5 separate regions of the Homo sapiens genome follow, and regions 1, 2, 4 and 5 are each linked to region 3. The links are contacts of gene promoters, found by promoter capture Hi-C in blood cells and fetal thymus (Javierre and others, 2016). All regions are on one chromosome and are shown on one strand. The core of a region is centred on a gene start or on the middle of the fragment in contact, and the rest is flanking DNA. Distances in the headings are between cores, read along the strand shown. Region 1 overlaps LRRC7 (leucine rich repeat containing 7). Region 2 overlaps LRRC7 (leucine rich repeat containing 7). Region 3 holds the start of DEPDC1-AS2 (DEPDC1 antisense RNA 2). Region 4 overlaps LRRC7 (leucine rich repeat containing 7). Region 5 overlaps LRRC7 (leucine rich repeat containing 7).

What was found. Contacts are between HindIII fragments. The CHiCAGO score rates a contact against its expected background, and 5 or more counts as called.
Region 1: a contact is called between a fragment that was not itself captured here and the fragment with the promoter of DEPDC1-AS2 in region 3, in 3 of 17 cell types (M0 macrophages, endothelial precursors and M2 macrophages). The highest score is 7.8, in M0 macrophages.
Region 2: a fragment that was not itself captured here is called in contact with the fragment with the promoter of DEPDC1-AS2 in region 3 in 1 of 17 cell types (megakaryocytes); the score reaches 5.9 in megakaryocytes.
Region 4: a contact is called between a fragment that was not itself captured here and the fragment with the promoter of DEPDC1-AS2 in region 3, in 7 of 17 cell types (M2 macrophages, endothelial precursors, megakaryocytes and 4 more). The highest score is 17.3, in M2 macrophages.
Region 5: a fragment that was not itself captured here is called in contact with the fragment with the promoter of DEPDC1-AS2 in region 3 in 1 of 17 cell types (endothelial precursors); the score reaches 6.7 in endothelial precursors.

Annotation. Positions count from the first base shown.
Region 1 is chr1:69,710,962-69,714,023 of GRCh38, forward strand. All of the region lies in intron 2 of LRRC7 (leucine rich repeat containing 7), which reads left to right. Among named protein-coding and RNA genes, the nearest start is that of LRRC7, 140 kb to the left of the region's middle. The HindIII fragment of the contact is 4,412 bases long and covers 1-3,062 here.
Region 2 is chr1:70,139,551-70,142,741 of GRCh38, forward strand. It overlaps LRRC7 (leucine rich repeat containing 7), which reads left to right. Exons shown (of 27, transcript NM_001370785.2): 27 at 1-3,191. Among named protein-coding and RNA genes, the nearest start is that of LRRC40, 64 kb to the right of the region's middle. RefSeq lists an enhancer at 1,214-1,715. The HindIII fragment of the contact is 2,278 bases long and covers 700-2,977 here.
Region 3 is chr1:68,477,753-68,480,791 of GRCh38, forward strand. DEPDC1-AS2 (DEPDC1 antisense RNA 2) reads left to right here and starts at 1,377. Exons shown (of 2, transcript NR_198991.1): 1 at 1,377-1,557. It overlaps DEPDC1 (DEP domain containing 1), which reads right to left. Exons shown (of 12, transcript NM_001114120.3): 10 at 1,392-1,568; 11 at 35-220. The HindIII fragment of the contact is 5,599 bases long and covers 1-2,188 here.
Region 4 is chr1:69,748,322-69,751,687 of GRCh38, forward strand. The region is part of intron 2 of LRRC7 (leucine rich repeat containing 7); the gene reads left to right. Among named protein-coding and RNA genes, the nearest start is that of LRRC7, 180 kb to the left of the region's middle. The HindIII fragment of the contact is 1,622 bases long and covers 1,115-2,736 here.
Region 5 is chr1:69,689,732-69,692,969 of GRCh38, forward strand. The region is part of intron 2 of LRRC7 (leucine rich repeat containing 7); the gene reads left to right. Among named protein-coding and RNA genes, the nearest start is that of LRRC7, 120 kb to the left of the region's middle. The HindIII fragment of the contact is 2,048 bases long and covers 862-2,909 here.

The sequences.
Region 1 (3,062 bases), core at 498-2,997, 1.2 Mb after region 3:
AAGTGACTCCTAGGGCTTACTGCAAAAACGTTCTTTGCTCCACCCAGATCTCACAAGTCCAGTGTTGAGTGTATGGCCTCATGCTTTCTGGAAAGCCCTCCAACTCTGATTCTTACAGGCTGAGCAGCTGTAAGATGTAACAACAAATCCTAATGAATCTCTGAAGATATTGGTGACCTTCAAAATATAGTAAATTCTCCCTTGCTGAGGATGGCTGTGGTGTAATTTTTCCTAAAATGATAAACTGAGTGTGGCTGTTTAAAATTTCTGTCAAACCTGTAATTCAATCTAAATATGCTCTCTATCACAATTCTTGCTTGGAGTAATGCTTATCACATTTCTTTGATATGCAGTGCCTGTACTTCAACAGCTCCTAGCACATTGTTGGCACTAAATAATCAATGACTGTTAGTGATCATGTCACAAAACACTAGAGAACATTGACCATGAGACTGAGTTAAAGTTCTTAGCCAATTCAATATCTGTTTCAAAGCATCCTTGACATTTCAAATCCCCTGAATTTTTCATTTACTCAGTAATTGAAAACCTAAATCTAGAACTGTGGTATTATCACAAGTGCCCACTGCACCCTCTGGATTCAAAAGGTTAATTTTAATGAACTTTTAAACACTTGCATTAGGCAATTTCATTTAAATATAATTGAAATGTGAAGCTGGGTAGTTGTAGTGCTTGGCATTCAAATCTGGCCTATTTACCGTGTCGTCATGGCTCAAGTGCTGTAGCAACACTTGATAAATATTACAGTGTCTAGAGTCATAAACACTGATTATAAGCATAACTGAACAAGGTCTTTGCCCCTGGGAAACCATGTTTTAAGTAGGAGCTTATACCCTAAGGACTTTTAACCGTACTTTCCACTTTTGAGTAGCATGTCGGAGGCAGGTCAAACTGGAGTCAAATGCAGCTTGGGCCACAGAAAGATGTAGAAAGTTCAGGAAGTATATGCTGGTGAGAATTAGCATGTACCTAATATGCACAATGAGTGGGGATCTTGTGTCATCATTTACATATAATCAAAGCACTGCATGAGGAGATTGTATTTCAAAAATTTTGACTAAAAATCTAGAAACCAGAAATGCCACTAAAAAGAGTTATGGCCCAAAGCAAGGAGCCTTTCAAAAGGCTTTCAAACAATACTTTCATATATAAGTTATCTCATAAAGTCGTTTAAAATAGACTTTAACCTGGAGGCTCAGTCACTTAGCCAAGTGTACCCCCAACCAATGAGGACAGTGGTAGCACTGAGAAAAAGAACACACACACACACACACACACACACGTGCACACGCGCAAGTGCTTTAAAATTTAATTTTCTAAAGTATTTTATTTAGGAAAAAAAGGGCCAGGTGCAGTGGCTACGCCTGTAATCCCAGCACTCTGGGAGGCCGAGTCAGGCAGATCACCTGAGGTCAGGAGTTTGAGACCAGCCTGGCCAACATGGCGAAACCCTATCTCTACTAAAAATAGAAAAATTAGCCAGGCTTGGTGGTGGGCGCCTGTAATCCAAGCTATTCAGGAGGCAGAGGCAGGGAGAATTGCTTGAACCCAGGAGGCAGCGGTTGCAGTGAGCCAAGATTGCGCCATTGCACTCCAGCCTGGGCGACAGAGCGAGACTCCATCTCACAAAACAAACAAACCAACAACAAAAAAAGAACCATTAGGGCTAGTATTCTGGTCTCTATTATAACAAAAAGTTATTTTTATTTTTTCTTTCAGCATTAAAAATGTAGTATCACTAGTGACTAAGTGCATTTGGTCTCTTATAAAAGAATAATAAAATACTGTGTTTAAAAGTATGTGTGCTTTGCTGGCTTTATTTCTCTTGTATGAAGGAGTGGGGTGATGATGTCCATATTGCATTAGCCATGGAAAGGCCCAGTTTCAGCTATCTGCAAGGGAAAAAAGCAAGTCTATGCATACTTTAAATAATAACTGCTGCCTATGTAACACAAAGATCTGTTGTTCTAAATTTAGCCACATATTCCCTCCAGTGTATTGAATGGCGAATCTCCCTGAACGTGGAGGGGCACGTTTTGTTTTCAACAAAATGACAAGATTACAGACAACAAGAATGTAATAGTTTATTTTTAAGATATCACTTTCATGGATACTGTAATAATATATTTTAGGCATATAATTTTACCTATTGTAATAAAAAATAATAATAACAAATACCCTTCTTCTAAGGAGAGTGTTTGCTCTTAAGAAGAACTTATTTTAAGGCCAGGCACGGTGGTTCATACCTGTAATCCCAGCACTTTGGGGGGCCAAAGCAGGAGGCTCACTTGAGCCTAGGAGTTCCAGATCAGCCCAGGAAGCATAGTGAGACTTGGTCTCTCAAAAAAAAATGTATATATATATATTTAGACAGGTGTGGTGACCTTCACCTGTAACGTCATCTACTCTGGAGGCCGAGGTTGGAGGATCACTTGAGCCTGGGAGGTCAAGGCCACCAGTGAGCCGTGATTGTGCCACTGCACCCCAGCCTGGATGACAAAGCGAGACCCTGTCTCAAAAACAAACAGAAAGAGCTTATTTTACTTTTTTTTTTAACTATGAGATGTTAAGTTTGATGATTACTGCCATTTTACAGAAAAAGAAATTAAATTATCTGATTCCTGTTTTCTAAGTTGTAGGCCTATGCTACATCAAATGGTATTTAATCAGACTGTTGAATGACTGTTTCCTTAATGTCCAGCTACGTTTATGATCATTTCAGCTAAACCTTAGTTACTTGAATTACACAGAGTTGGAATCTGCATGGCATCTCGTATGAAACTGATCAAAGGGTTTGAATTCTGGGGAATAGAGATAATTGTTTAACATTAATACAGACTTTTGCCCCAAATAAGAATTTCCAGTCACAAAATGTTAATCACAATGGCTGAATGCTTGTGTATCAGACACCTAAGAGCTTTGCTTAGAAAATTTACCCAGTAATCTTGCTAATTCCTGGGACTCTCTTCTTCTCTCTCTTCTTATTCTGTCTCTTATTAATCCCAAAGCTAAACTCATCCAGCACCCTCATAACAAATATTTTG
Region 2 (3,191 bases), core at 589-3,088, 1.7 Mb after region 3:
TTTTTCCTTTGTGGGTGAGGGAAGAAGAGGACATCAGGTGAAGTGTGCCATTACTATTTGAAAACTAGCTCTGCAGGAAGGGTTAAATCAAATCCTTTACAGGGTGACCTTCCTACATCTCCTTAGAGCAACTGCATTTCAAAATAGGCCAAAGCTGAAGTCATAGGAATGAGACATTAATTGTAGGTTTTCAGGAAAGCTTCGGAGACACGGCAGGTACAGTCTCCTTAGAGCCTTTGAAAATACAACATGTAGGTCCTTCTCAGATTATGCTGAAACTCCAAATCCTTGTTAAAGGTTTTCCTGGACTCCTACAGTCTGGTTTGATCAGTTTATTATTAAGTACTGAATGACAGAGAAGGGTACACAGGGAGGACTTGTATCACATGAAGTAAAATAATTATTTCCTTAATGAGAAACTTAATTCTAGGGTACTTACAATAGCTGCCTTATTGGGGGAAGGGAGGCATAGATTTGCAAATGGTGGGTTTTTTCGTTTTTTTGTGTGTTGGAGTAATTGAAAAGATACATCAAGCAATAATAAACTAGATGTGCAATAATCTTGTCGAGTAGTATGTGCTGGTTTTGGAAAGGTGAAAAGAAAATTGTTACATCAGGCTGCTTTTATCAAGCTAAGCATGGGCATGCCTTTCCAAAGGGTATATTTGATCCTACAGTTAATTTTAACATTGGGCTGCAAGCTTAACCTCATCAGGAGTGGAATTAGATTTTACAAAGTTCCCCTTATCCAAACTACAGCACGCTTACTACTTTCTCCTTCCATTTTCCACACCTCAGCCCCCTAGGACCAGCTACTGGTAAGTCATTTTGTCCATTTTCATTGATCTGGCCACATAAGGAACATCCTGTTTCTTTAAATCCTCAATGCTTAAATTGCCATGTAGAAATCAACTCCCTATCAATTTTCTACATTTAATCCTTGGCTTCTTGTCATATTTTCATTTTTCTGCACTGGTTCCCATGGCAACAAGTCTGTTGGCAGAGAAAGTATGACTCTGCTTTTAGCCTTCTGCACAAGACAAAATCCTTCTGGTGATCCTCAGGCAAGTATAATATAAAAAGTCAGGAATTGACTACAGTTCCCTTGGCTAATGCCTCTAATCCTTTACTCTCTTGCATGCATTTTCCACCTTATTCCCAAACCAGGCTTGAGAAAAAAAGCATTCAAGGGCCCTGCCCAGTATCTCTTTACTGATACAAGTATTCAAAGGCCCTCCTATCCAATCACAGCCACAAAGACTGAATATTTTGGTTCAGATGGCTTTCCCTTCTCCCTAAGTGTCAGTGACTTAACTGACATAAATGCATAATTAATGACAAGGACCACTGGGAGCAGCATCGAGAAGCAACTTTCAGTCATTTTTCTATAAACAACTTTCCTCAGTTCGCAACTGAGGTGTAGCCCAGGGAATAAGTATGTCCTGAATTGAGCCTTAAATCAGTGACTAATAAGGCAATGGAACACTCAAGCAGATTTTCCTCTAATGAGTAGTTAAGTGGCACAGGAGGAGAGGCCAAGGAGTCATCCCAGAGTTCTAAGCTCATAAAGAGGAAGAGATAACAAAAGATGTAGATAAGAGGACATTGTTAACTGGTGGCTGCAAATGAGCAAGGGAGCTTCATTCAGTTGGGACAATTCAGGGTTCAGGTACGAAAAGGGTATGAAGCCTACTGAAAAATAAGGAAATGGAGCATGGAGAAAGAAAGGGTTTTTAAGAGTTAAGTCAGTAGAAAGGGAGCCTGCAAATGAGACAATAGCTTCATGCAGACTTTGGCCCAACTCTGTCTACAAATACTTTTGCAAATAATGTTTCTCTTAATAAAATGATATATTTTGTTTTGAACTTTGGAATTCCATTGTGGCTTGGCACTAAATTATAGGCCTAGCAATCCTAAATCTCCTATGTCCTCAATATCTAGAAACAAGCAGGAACTGTTTGTCAGAAATTAAACAGGACTTATTTGAATGTGCTTTAAAAAAAAAATCAATGAATTCAGGGGAATGAAAATACATGTTAGAAATTAAAATGTGGTTATCTCAGCTATAGTTAAGAAAATTATCAAATGTAAATGATCCCTTTTTTGCTGGATCTTATAAAATATGTGATACTTAAGTACACTGAAGTTTTAAAGTTAGCTGCTTATATTGTACAAAGATATTTTTGGCTCTTTAAAGGTTATTTTCCTATATTAAGAAAAGGTTTCTTATATTGAAAACTTTTATGGTGACTCAGGTTTTGTGTCTATGTATAGGCACACATAAATAGGAGGTGTTTTTCTTTGCACATTTGTTTTGCACAGCTAAAATAATGAGGTTAAATAATGCCCAGGTATGCAGGTCAATTGACCTTTTTAATAGCTTAACGAAAGCATTTGACAAATGGACAAAAGAAATCACATTGTATTTCTTTGTATCTCTCCATTCCTCTTACCCTTCCCCAACCCTCTACTAAAGAATATTTCTTATTTAGTCAGGAAATCTTATGTAATATTTTTGGACGGTCCATAGGAAAAGCAAGATGAAACTCTCAGGCAGACAACATAAAGCAGCTCCCATATCTGCTAGAAAGGTCATTAATTTTCAGAATATATTGTTGAAATAATTTTTATTTTCAATACTTGTAGTCTTTCCACTCAGAGGACTCTTATTTGGCTTGAATGTGGAAAAGGCATCTGGTTCAGGTCAGTAAGGACTGTTGTATGTAAGTTTTACTCTAGAAAATTTGGTTTTAGCTTTGATGACACCTAGCGTCAGTGGAATGCAATGAATGCTTAATACTTCGGCTTTATAATGTTTGGGCATTTCTCTTTAACATCCTCAAATACACTTTCATCCTTGAAAACACAAGCCTATTTTCTGTTTGAAATGAAGAGAAAGGTAATTGACAGATAAACAGATAGTTTTTGTTTGAAGAGCCAATCAAGTTTCTCTTTGTACTCAGTAGGGACTAAAGGAAGCTTAAGGATAATGACATTGTCTTCATATGAAGAAGAAATTTTTTACTAGTGGAAAATTAGAAGTAAATCTACCAAATTCTGTTTGTAAATTTTAAAGACCACCACAAAAGACCTTGAAAAAAGTGAAACTACTGCAAGATTACTGTTGCTTATTGAAAGTAATAATACAGTTTTATTTTTTCCACTTTATAACTGCCCAAGGGCTCCCCCAA
Region 3 (3,039 bases), core at 127-2,626:
GTTTACATGATTGAGAACTTGCTCATTCTCTTACCTGTTTTAGTTTTTTTCTTTTCTCCTTTAGAGGTAAACTCCTGTTTTTAATAATATTTTCTAAAAGTTCTGCAATTGCAGCTTGAGAGGTAGAAACTTTTTGCTCATCAAACTCCTGAGCACTAATCTGCTTACAGTATGAGTAAGTTGGCAAAGGAGCAAATAGTCCATCTCCAGGATTTTCAATCTGTAGTGATCAAAATGATATAACTCTGTTAATTCTGGTCATGTTCTTATATGATAAAGTATTCTTTTGATGGGATCTAGCACCTATTAATTTACCACCAATCAAACATTCAGCCATTAAAAAAACTATGTATTATGCAGTAGAGGTATGTAAGTCAGTAGGTTCTAAACCCCAGCTCCATAATCTACTTGGTTTGTAGCATTCAACAATGTATTTAACTTTTCTTGGTCTGTTTCTTCATCATTAAAATGGAAATTACATAAGAAAATGTATAGAAAGGGCTCAGCCCACAATAAGCATTAAATAAAGACAGGTATTATAATTATTACCATTAACTATGGATTTTATTCTTTTAACTATAAAATAACAATCTAAGTGTTATTCTAATTCATCTTAAGACTTTAATGTTCTGACAGTGCAGGTAGTAGATGATCAGCATATTTACTGAAATGAAATATTTTTAGTTTTCATGTATTTTTTTTTTTTTTGAGGCCTAGGGACATAGGCAGAGCTTCTAACATCTTCTGATAAGAGAAAGAAATTCTAGGAGATAGTTATAATTATAAGCCAGGGCAATATTAGAATGGTATGTATGGGAAAAACATAAACATGTGTTGGGCAGCCAAAGACAGAATACAGTAGATGTCTGTTATTTTGGCTGCTCAGTATTCCTTCTCTCCTTCTTTTAATAGTTCCTTCCCATTTTACCCCTCTACCTTCACCTTTTGTGAAGAATAAATTCTCCTTTGTGTAGAACCAATCAGAGTAAGGCCCTATCTCCATCCTACTCACTCTTAACAACCTAAACGATGCATATTTAACCTCAACTATGCTAAGAGTCTACATCCAGAGCTTTTAAATTGGAGACGGAGGAATGGCTCTTTTTCCTTTGAATTGCAAATGTAAGGCTCTAACTCATGAACTTCAACTAGCCACATTCCTCATCATGTGAAGGAGCCATTGTCAAACACAGGATCAACACAGAAATAAGAGATGGAGGGATGGAAAGAGTCATATAGCTATTTGAGTCCCAGATTCTGTCTACATTCCTGACTTTTAGAGGTTGTTTATGGGAGCTGATAAAGTCTCCCTTTTTGATTAAGCTATTTTGAGATGAGTTTGCCACTTGCAACTGACTATTGCAGAGAATTTTAAGACTCACAATACTTACATGTCCCTTTTTTAAGTAGTCAAGATGTTTTTCCACTGCAGTCTGTAAGTAAGAGGGTACTTGAAGAATTTCCTGATGATGATCCATTAAGAAAGAAACTAATCTTCCAGCAAGAAGCTCATCAAGATCCACTTCTTCAGCACAGCATAACACACATCGAGAAAAGGTATGTATCATCTAGAAAAATATTAAAAGATGTGAATTTAAAAAGCTAAGGTTGCATACAAACTAGAATATCGGTAATTTCCAGGTAGCATTATGTGAAGTATTGGGAAAAAGTGGTAAGCAGCCCTCAGTTTAAAAATGAGGACAACGATTTATACAGTTAGAAATGTAAGAATTTGATTATACATAAATCCTTTTTAAAGTTTTTCCATGGCTGAGCATGGTGGTTCATGCCTGTAATCTAAGCACTTTGGGAGGCTGAGGTGAGAGGCTCACTTGAGGCAAGGAGTTCGAAGCCAGCCTAGGCAACATAGTGAAACCCTATACCTATGAAGAAATAAAAAACTAGCCAGGCATGATGGTGCATGACTGTGGTTCCAGCTACTTGGGAGAGTGAGGCAGAAGGATTTTTTGAGCCCAGGAATTCCAGGGTGCAGTGAGCTATGATCACACCACTGTACTCTAGCCTGGGAAACAGAGCGTGATCCTGTGTAACCAGAAAAAAAAAAAAAAAGTATATCCTTAATGTAATTCCCAAGAATTATAAAAGGCTTTGGTTTTTCTACAATTTTGTCACAATTTTATCAGTAAACACCATAGGTTCTATTAATACCACATATATATGTTGCTTAAGCTTAAAGATTGTCAGAGAACAATAACTAATTACATTAAATGAATCCCACAGAAAAACACAAACCAGGAGAATGTGTAACATATAGAACACTTCTATTCATAAGTGGTTGCAAAGCTGATGCCATTTAGCTTTTGAAATGCTGGAAAATAGTTTTTAAAAATGTTTATTCTGTCAGTCTTTAGACAGCAATTTAAAACACACATTTTTCAATTCCATCTTATGGGATCTTCAAATCCTGGGATAAAATTGATTACTCTCACTTATTACTCTCGTTACTTTCACTTATATCTATGCAACCCTCTAACTGTACCACACACACACACACACACACACACACACACCCCTCATTCTAAAATACTTAGAAATCAGAATTGTTTTAAATATTTCACACATAGTAGATGATCAGAATATTTATAGAATTGATACATTTTTAGTTTTATTCCTACACATCACTCGGGGTTTCCTGTCTCCTTCCATGGCTCAGACCTCAGCCTTTTGCTCTTTCTTCACACTCTTAGCCTTGTAGAGCTCATCTACTCTCATAGCTTCAAGTACTATCCCTATGTAAATGACCAAATCAATTTGCATTCTCCCCTGATCTTTCTTCACCTGGCTCATATTTCCAACATTCTGTTGGACAAATTTCAATTTCTCTTGGAGGTCCTATGACTTCAAATCTTAAAAGTGCAAAACCAAAATTATCACCTTCCCAGTCATGTCTCTGAAAACATCTTCCTCTATAAACTTCCTAGCTTTTTAATAGTGCTATAATTACTCAAGAATAATTCTTCTTCTTTATATTAGGTCTGTCATTGTTAAAGAACTATCTTTAATAACGCGTGGAAGAAA
Region 4 (3,366 bases), core at 676-3,175, 1.3 Mb after region 3:
TGGGTCTCTTATCATGTGTTGTGAAGGGCACCAAATTAACATTGCGTCTCATCACAAAAGGCAAGGAATCTCTGAGATGAGACAACTACATAGAAAATGATTTCCTACTAGTCCTTACTAAAGCTCCTACTCAAATCTCTGGAAGAAGCTGTGGAGTAAAATGCTTCACATAAAGTGGAAATTTTAACAAAATAAATTTTGACCATCAGTATACTCAAAGTTTTATTAAATAAAGTATTTGATTAAAACACATTTAAAAGTACTAAACACACCTCTGGCTTCTCAATAGACCATGCCAAATCATTGATCTTTGTCTTGATAACTGACTCATCATTAAGAACATAAATCTTGTACTACAGTATGAAAATTTCTCAGGAGATCTTAAGGTGTAAGAACATCATCTGAGTAATATATTCAAGGATCAGGTAAGTGATTAGACTGAGGGTCCTTCCAAACTTGAGAGTCTGTCAATAAAATAGCCTCTATCTGACTACTTCTGCTCTGCTCTTTTATTCTGTGTCTTTTTATTCTTTTATTCTGGGTCAAGCCTTCAGATATTATTCCAGAAACTAATTATTTTAGGTTATTACCTTATGAAAGTTAGATCTTTGAGAGTATCCTAATGCTTAGAAATGTGTTTCTTCATGCTGCTCTTGGGTCAGTTTCACAACTTGCCTGGAAGCCAAACTCTTCAAGAAACATAGGTGGAATAGTTTATTACTGAATTAGAACTTGTCTCTGAACTTTGGCTAATTTTAACCTGATGTTGTAATTTTCTTTCTACTGTCCTTACATGTATATTTGCATATTTAAATAAGTTAGCAGACAAAAATGTCAAGACAGAATGTGTGGAAAGAGAAAAACAAAAGTACTATAGTATAGTTTTTCACCCAGGTGATATGATGAGGACAGATTTTGAGTGAGTTTGTATATGCCACTACTTAGTACAAACCTTCTCTCAAGGAATTGCTTCTAGCTTGATCCTATAATCCATAAGTTGATGTTCTTTAGTGTTACAATGACTGTAATAATGGTGAAGAGTAGAAGACAGACCAGGAAAGCAGCATTATTTATAAATATGGAACAGAAGATTTTTAAAAAGAAGACAAATTTAAGCTTCAATAAGTGCTCCAAACTCAAATTCTGTGGATTTTGTTTAACAATGCACACTATGACTAGAAAACAATGACCTAAATAAATTAAAGAGTGAGACGGAATATTCTATCAACCAAAAAGTTCCAATTCTCAGGTTTCTGTAACATCAGCTACTGTGATGTTTTAAGATTTACAAATTATAATTACAAACAAAAATCATTCAACATTATTTTTTAAAAATATAAGTTTTACCATAGATTGGTAGGGTTGACATAGATGAAGAAAATAGATGAAAGATATTCAGTTTTGGGAGTAGTGTAAGCTAGAGCATAGAATAGGGAAAGTGTCTTCAGGGAAGTAGAAGGTAGAAAACTGAAAAGTTCACGCCTGTAATCCCAGCACTTTGGGAGGCTGAGGTGGGCGGATCACGAGGTCAGGAGATCGAGACCATCTTGGCCAACATGGTGAAACCCCTTCTCTACTAAAATATAAAAATTAGCCAGGCATGGTGGCATGTGCCTGTAGTCCCAGCTATTCGGGAGGCTGAGGCAGGGGAATCGCTTGAACCCGGGAGGTGGAGGTTGCAGTGAGCTGAGATCACGCCACTGCACTCCAGCCTGGCGACAGAGCAAGACTATGTCTCAAAAATAAATAAATAAATAAATAAATAAATAAATAATAATAACTGAAAAGTGAGGTTAAAGAGAACTTGAATGTCAAGCTAAAGAATCTTGTAGAGCACCCTTTCATAAAGTGGGTAATTCAGAATACTAATGAGGAAAGGTTGGTTAATGGGTAAAAAAATACAGTTAAGAGCAAAGGAGCAAGTTCTAGTGTTCAGTAGCACAGCAAGGAAACTCTTATTTAGCAATAATGTATATTTTGAAATATTTAAAAGATTTAGAATGTTACTAACACAAAGAAATGATAAATGTTTGAGGTTATACATATCCCAATTACTCTGATTTGATTGTCACACATTGTACACTTGTATTAGAATATTGCCTGTACCCCATAAATATGTACAACCATATGTATAATTAAATTTTTAATTAAAAAGGTATCTAGAAAACATTGGTTTGAACAAAGATAAATGTAGTTTTTTAATTTATCACAAGACCTCTGCCTTAGTTCATTTGTGCTGCTATAATGAAATACTGAGTAATTTATAAGCTGTGGAAATTTATTTCTCACAATTCTGGAGGCTAGGAGTCCAAGATCAAGGTGCCAGCAAGTTCAGAGTCTGTTGAGGGCCCAGTCTCCCCTTCCAAGATGATGTCTTATTGCTGCATCCACTGAATGGAATTGTTGCTGTGTCTTCACATGGCAAAGGAACAGAAGAACAGAGCCTAAACTGGTTTCCTTTAGCCCTTTTGTAAGGCATTAATCCATTCATGAGGGCGGGGTCTTCATGACTTAGTCACTTCTCAGAAGGCCCCACCTCTTGATATCACCACATGGGGATTAAGTTTTAACATGAATTTTGAAGGGGACATAAGTCAAACCATAGCAATTTCCATGAGTTCTTAATATGCTAATGCATATGGGATTATGATCTCCTCTCAGCTTATGTCTAAGAGGAAGATGTAACCCAGGAGCATGGTCTGGGAAATACTGTTGTTGAAAATGTAGACTCAGTGAAGCTTTTAAACTGGGGAATGGATGTGCATTTTAAGAGATTAATTAATGTCTTAAATGTATGTGTCAATATGTAAAAAGGATAAAACTCTAATATTTGCTTTTATAGCAATTATAATATGCAATTATGGATTTATTTAAATAACTTTTTATTTGATGCTCATCTCTCTTACTATCCAATAAATTCAGTAGAGCAGGCACCATAGCTTTTTAACTCATTTGTATTATTCAACATATAAACCAGTACCTAACATATAGTAGACAATTAATAAGTATTTATTACATGTCTAGAAATAGTGTACTTTTGTGCAGTATTTTCATTGGCATTACTACTAGAAGATGGCAAGGGTCTGAATTAGATTGACTGAATGGTAAAGAAAGGAAAAGAAAGACATAAAATATTTAATATAGAAGGAAAAAAGGAAAGAAGGAAAAGCAAAAGAGGACTGCAAGTACAGAATTAAGAGAATTAAAGTATAATCAAAACAACAAATTATGAAGGAAAGCACAATGTCTAGTACGGAGGAGTAGGAGCTTAGTAAATATGTCCAAGTTCTGCTTTTGACAAGTGGAGTTTTATTTAAATTTGGCATCTCATTAAGCCGTTAGAGGCAAAATCAGGGATGATGGTCT
Region 5 (3,238 bases), core at 636-3,135, 1.2 Mb after region 3:
ATTTCTCATTATCTCTAATAGTAAGCTAGAAAATCCTATTACATATTATGCTTCTATTAATACCTCGGGTTCCAGTTAAACAGTGTCGTAACAATAAATTTAAAAAGTGAAGTTGTACTAGGCTGAATTTTCTCTGCACATCCAAAATTAATACAGTTGATTATTTTAGCATAATATAAAAATAAGATTAAAGGATTACATCAAATTAGATTCACAGCCTGAATATTCTTAGACCTTCAGAAAATTGAAATCAAGTTAATGCAAATTTGGTACCAAGTTGAAGCATTTTAGTTATATGTAGATGGTTTTTTCATTCAAACTTCAGGCAAATAACTTACCAAAATTACATCGTAAGCTCTTCTATGGAAGGTCCATAGCTTTGCTCCAGCCTCCATAGTTATTTTTGCAGCCAAACCCTTCCTGAGATGCTACATAGGATATAATTTTTTTAAAGATCCATTGCCACTTATTTTCCTAGCACCTCTGGCTTAGCAAATCAGTCGTTTGTGTAGGACTTGAGCTCCCACTGGGCTTTTTAAAAAATGCAAATGTCTCTGAGGAGTAACTGTAGTCAAGTCATAAAACTTCATTCAACATGAAAGTGTTTTCAGATCAATGGCCTCAATAACTAGAAGGAATCAGGTAGCAAGAGATCTTTGGATGTCCGGGAAGAAGTAGGAAAAAGTCAGAAAAATATTTAAGTGAGGGATTTGAAAAGCAAATTTCAACTACTACATATTTTTGACAAAGGTTAGTTTTGTTATTTGATGAAGGATTTTTTTGAATAAAATTTCAGCCCTTTTTACACCCTTCCTTTCGTATTAGCAGTAACTATTTTGTTATTCATTCCTTCCTTATGAAAGCTTCCCTGATGCCTCTCCTCCTCTTCTTGGCAGACATCAGGACTGTTAAAGGACCAACAGGTTCATATGCCCACTATACAATAACACACCAGATACACTGAGACAGCTGGATTTGCCCCAGAGAAAAAGCTAAATGACCACAGAGCAGAGCACCAAGTGCGGAGATGAAGGAGACCCTCAAATCCATTTCCCCATCCTGAAGTTCTGGGCTGGGCTTTTTAAGGGAATCATAGAGGGTAAGGGCCTGGAAAATTGGAGTTGTTGGTTGAGGTAAGGAGAATGAAATCATCATTACATTGAAACCCATTCTTTGGTGACTCAGCTTCTTGTGGGGTCTTTCAGACCAGCTTGTGTCAATAGGGTCCTACAGAGCAGCTGATATCAGCAGTTTTACTAGTATGCAGGACCTGAAAGAATATCTCAAAGGGAAAACAATGTTTCATAATGTTCAGGAAGTTATCTATAGAGCAGCTAAGGGGAAATAATCTTGTAACAGGGTCTGGGTGATTCTGAGGTAATAGGCCCCAAACAACCATGGGGAAGCAGGTCAGAGGGCAAGCTGGCCTAGTGTTTAACATTGAATGGGCTGAAAGTTTGGTTTATTTTTGTTTCTTGTTTCTCCCCCTCCCTTCTTACCTGAATAATTTTATGAAGTTTATAGGGATGGTTTCAGGACCTCCATTCTATCTGTTCCTGAAATATTACAAAAAGATTATTATTGTAGCACTCATCTAATTGTGTTTTATCTCGTTGTTTGCATGTCTGTTTCTTCCCCAGTGAGTTGTAAATTGCTTAAGGGCAAACAGACGCATCCTATTTATCTGTCTGTCACTAACATTAAGCACAGCATTTGGTATACAGTCATCACTCTAATAAAGTTTGAAAAAAATAAAAAGGAATGAATTATAAAGGATACAACTTGGCCAGGTACAGTGGCTGACCCCTGTAATCCCAATGCTTTGGGAGGCTAAGCCAGGTGGATCGCTTAAGCTCAGGAGCTTGAGATGGGCCTGAGCAACATGGCGAAACTCTGTCTCTACAAAAAGAACAAAAATTAGCCAGGAGTAGTGGCACATGCCTGTAGTCCCAGATACTCAGGAGGCTGAGGTGGGAGGATTGCTTGAGCCTGGGAGGTCGAGGCTGCAGTGAGTTGTGATTACACTGCTGCACTCCAGCCTGGGCAAAAGAGGGAGACCCTGTCTCAAAAAAAAAAAAAAAAAAAAAAAAGAAAAGAAAAGAAGCAACTTGATTTAAGCCACAGTAGTTGTAGTTGACAGTACAGTTGGAGTTTAAAGGCATCCAATAGATAACTTTCATATTGCAAAACAATTTTGAAACCAATTAAAATATTGACAAGATATCAGACATTATTTTTAAGTAATAAAGATTTTTATGATGCTTGATCTTTATTACTTATAAAGGCTAGATTGGAGAACACAGTTGGGATTTTTGGCAACTATGGGGTTTTTCATAATATACTCTAGAAATGGGCATACCTATCCACCTAAACACAGCAGTACAAGAAACCACAGGGCTTCTTTTTTGGGGAACTCCTGCTACAAAACTTACAGCAGTGAGGAGCAGATTAATGTAGTGTATCTTAGCTGAAGCAGTTCCATCTCAAAGAAAGATGGAGGAAGGTACTGGGCTACTTATGCCCAGTTCTCCTCCAGTATTTATTAACTGGGTAAATCACCTCACTTCCTAACGGAGTTAGAAATGATATAAGAAGTCAAGAGTATTGGGGAAATCCCTCTACACAGAAAATAGATGAGTGCATGATAAGCACCTCACTTCTAATGTTCCCTAAAGTCTTTATCTCTTAAGGCATTAGGCTTAAATATTAAGCCTTTAGACAGCTAGAAGGGCATTTATTAGGGCAGCCTTTACCCAGATATCAATCCCTACTTTTTCGTGGGTCCTTCTGAGATTACTGGGAGCAGAGAGGAGGAGCAATGTGGATTTAACTGCAAGACCATTCTAAACCAAGGCCTTGACCCTTCATATTCTACTGTCATCTCAAATTGTGTCTTACATTATTCTTGAAGCTTCCAAAATATGATGATCAAATTACACTCATTTATTCAACAAATATTGACTTAATGTCAGCTGTATGGCTCTCCCTCTTGTGTGCTTGTAATACACAGCATGTTGGATAATTTTGTATGTAAACTTGACTGGGCCACAGTATGCACAGATCTGGCTAAACATTATTTCCAGGTGTGTCTATGCGAATGTTTTCAGAAAAAAAAATAGTATTTAAGTTGGTAGCCCTCCCTAATATGGGCCTTCCCTAAAGCAGGCAGCCCTCCCTAATGTGGGTGGGGACCATCCAATCCATGAGGACGTGAATAGAACAAAAGTGTGGCTCTGCT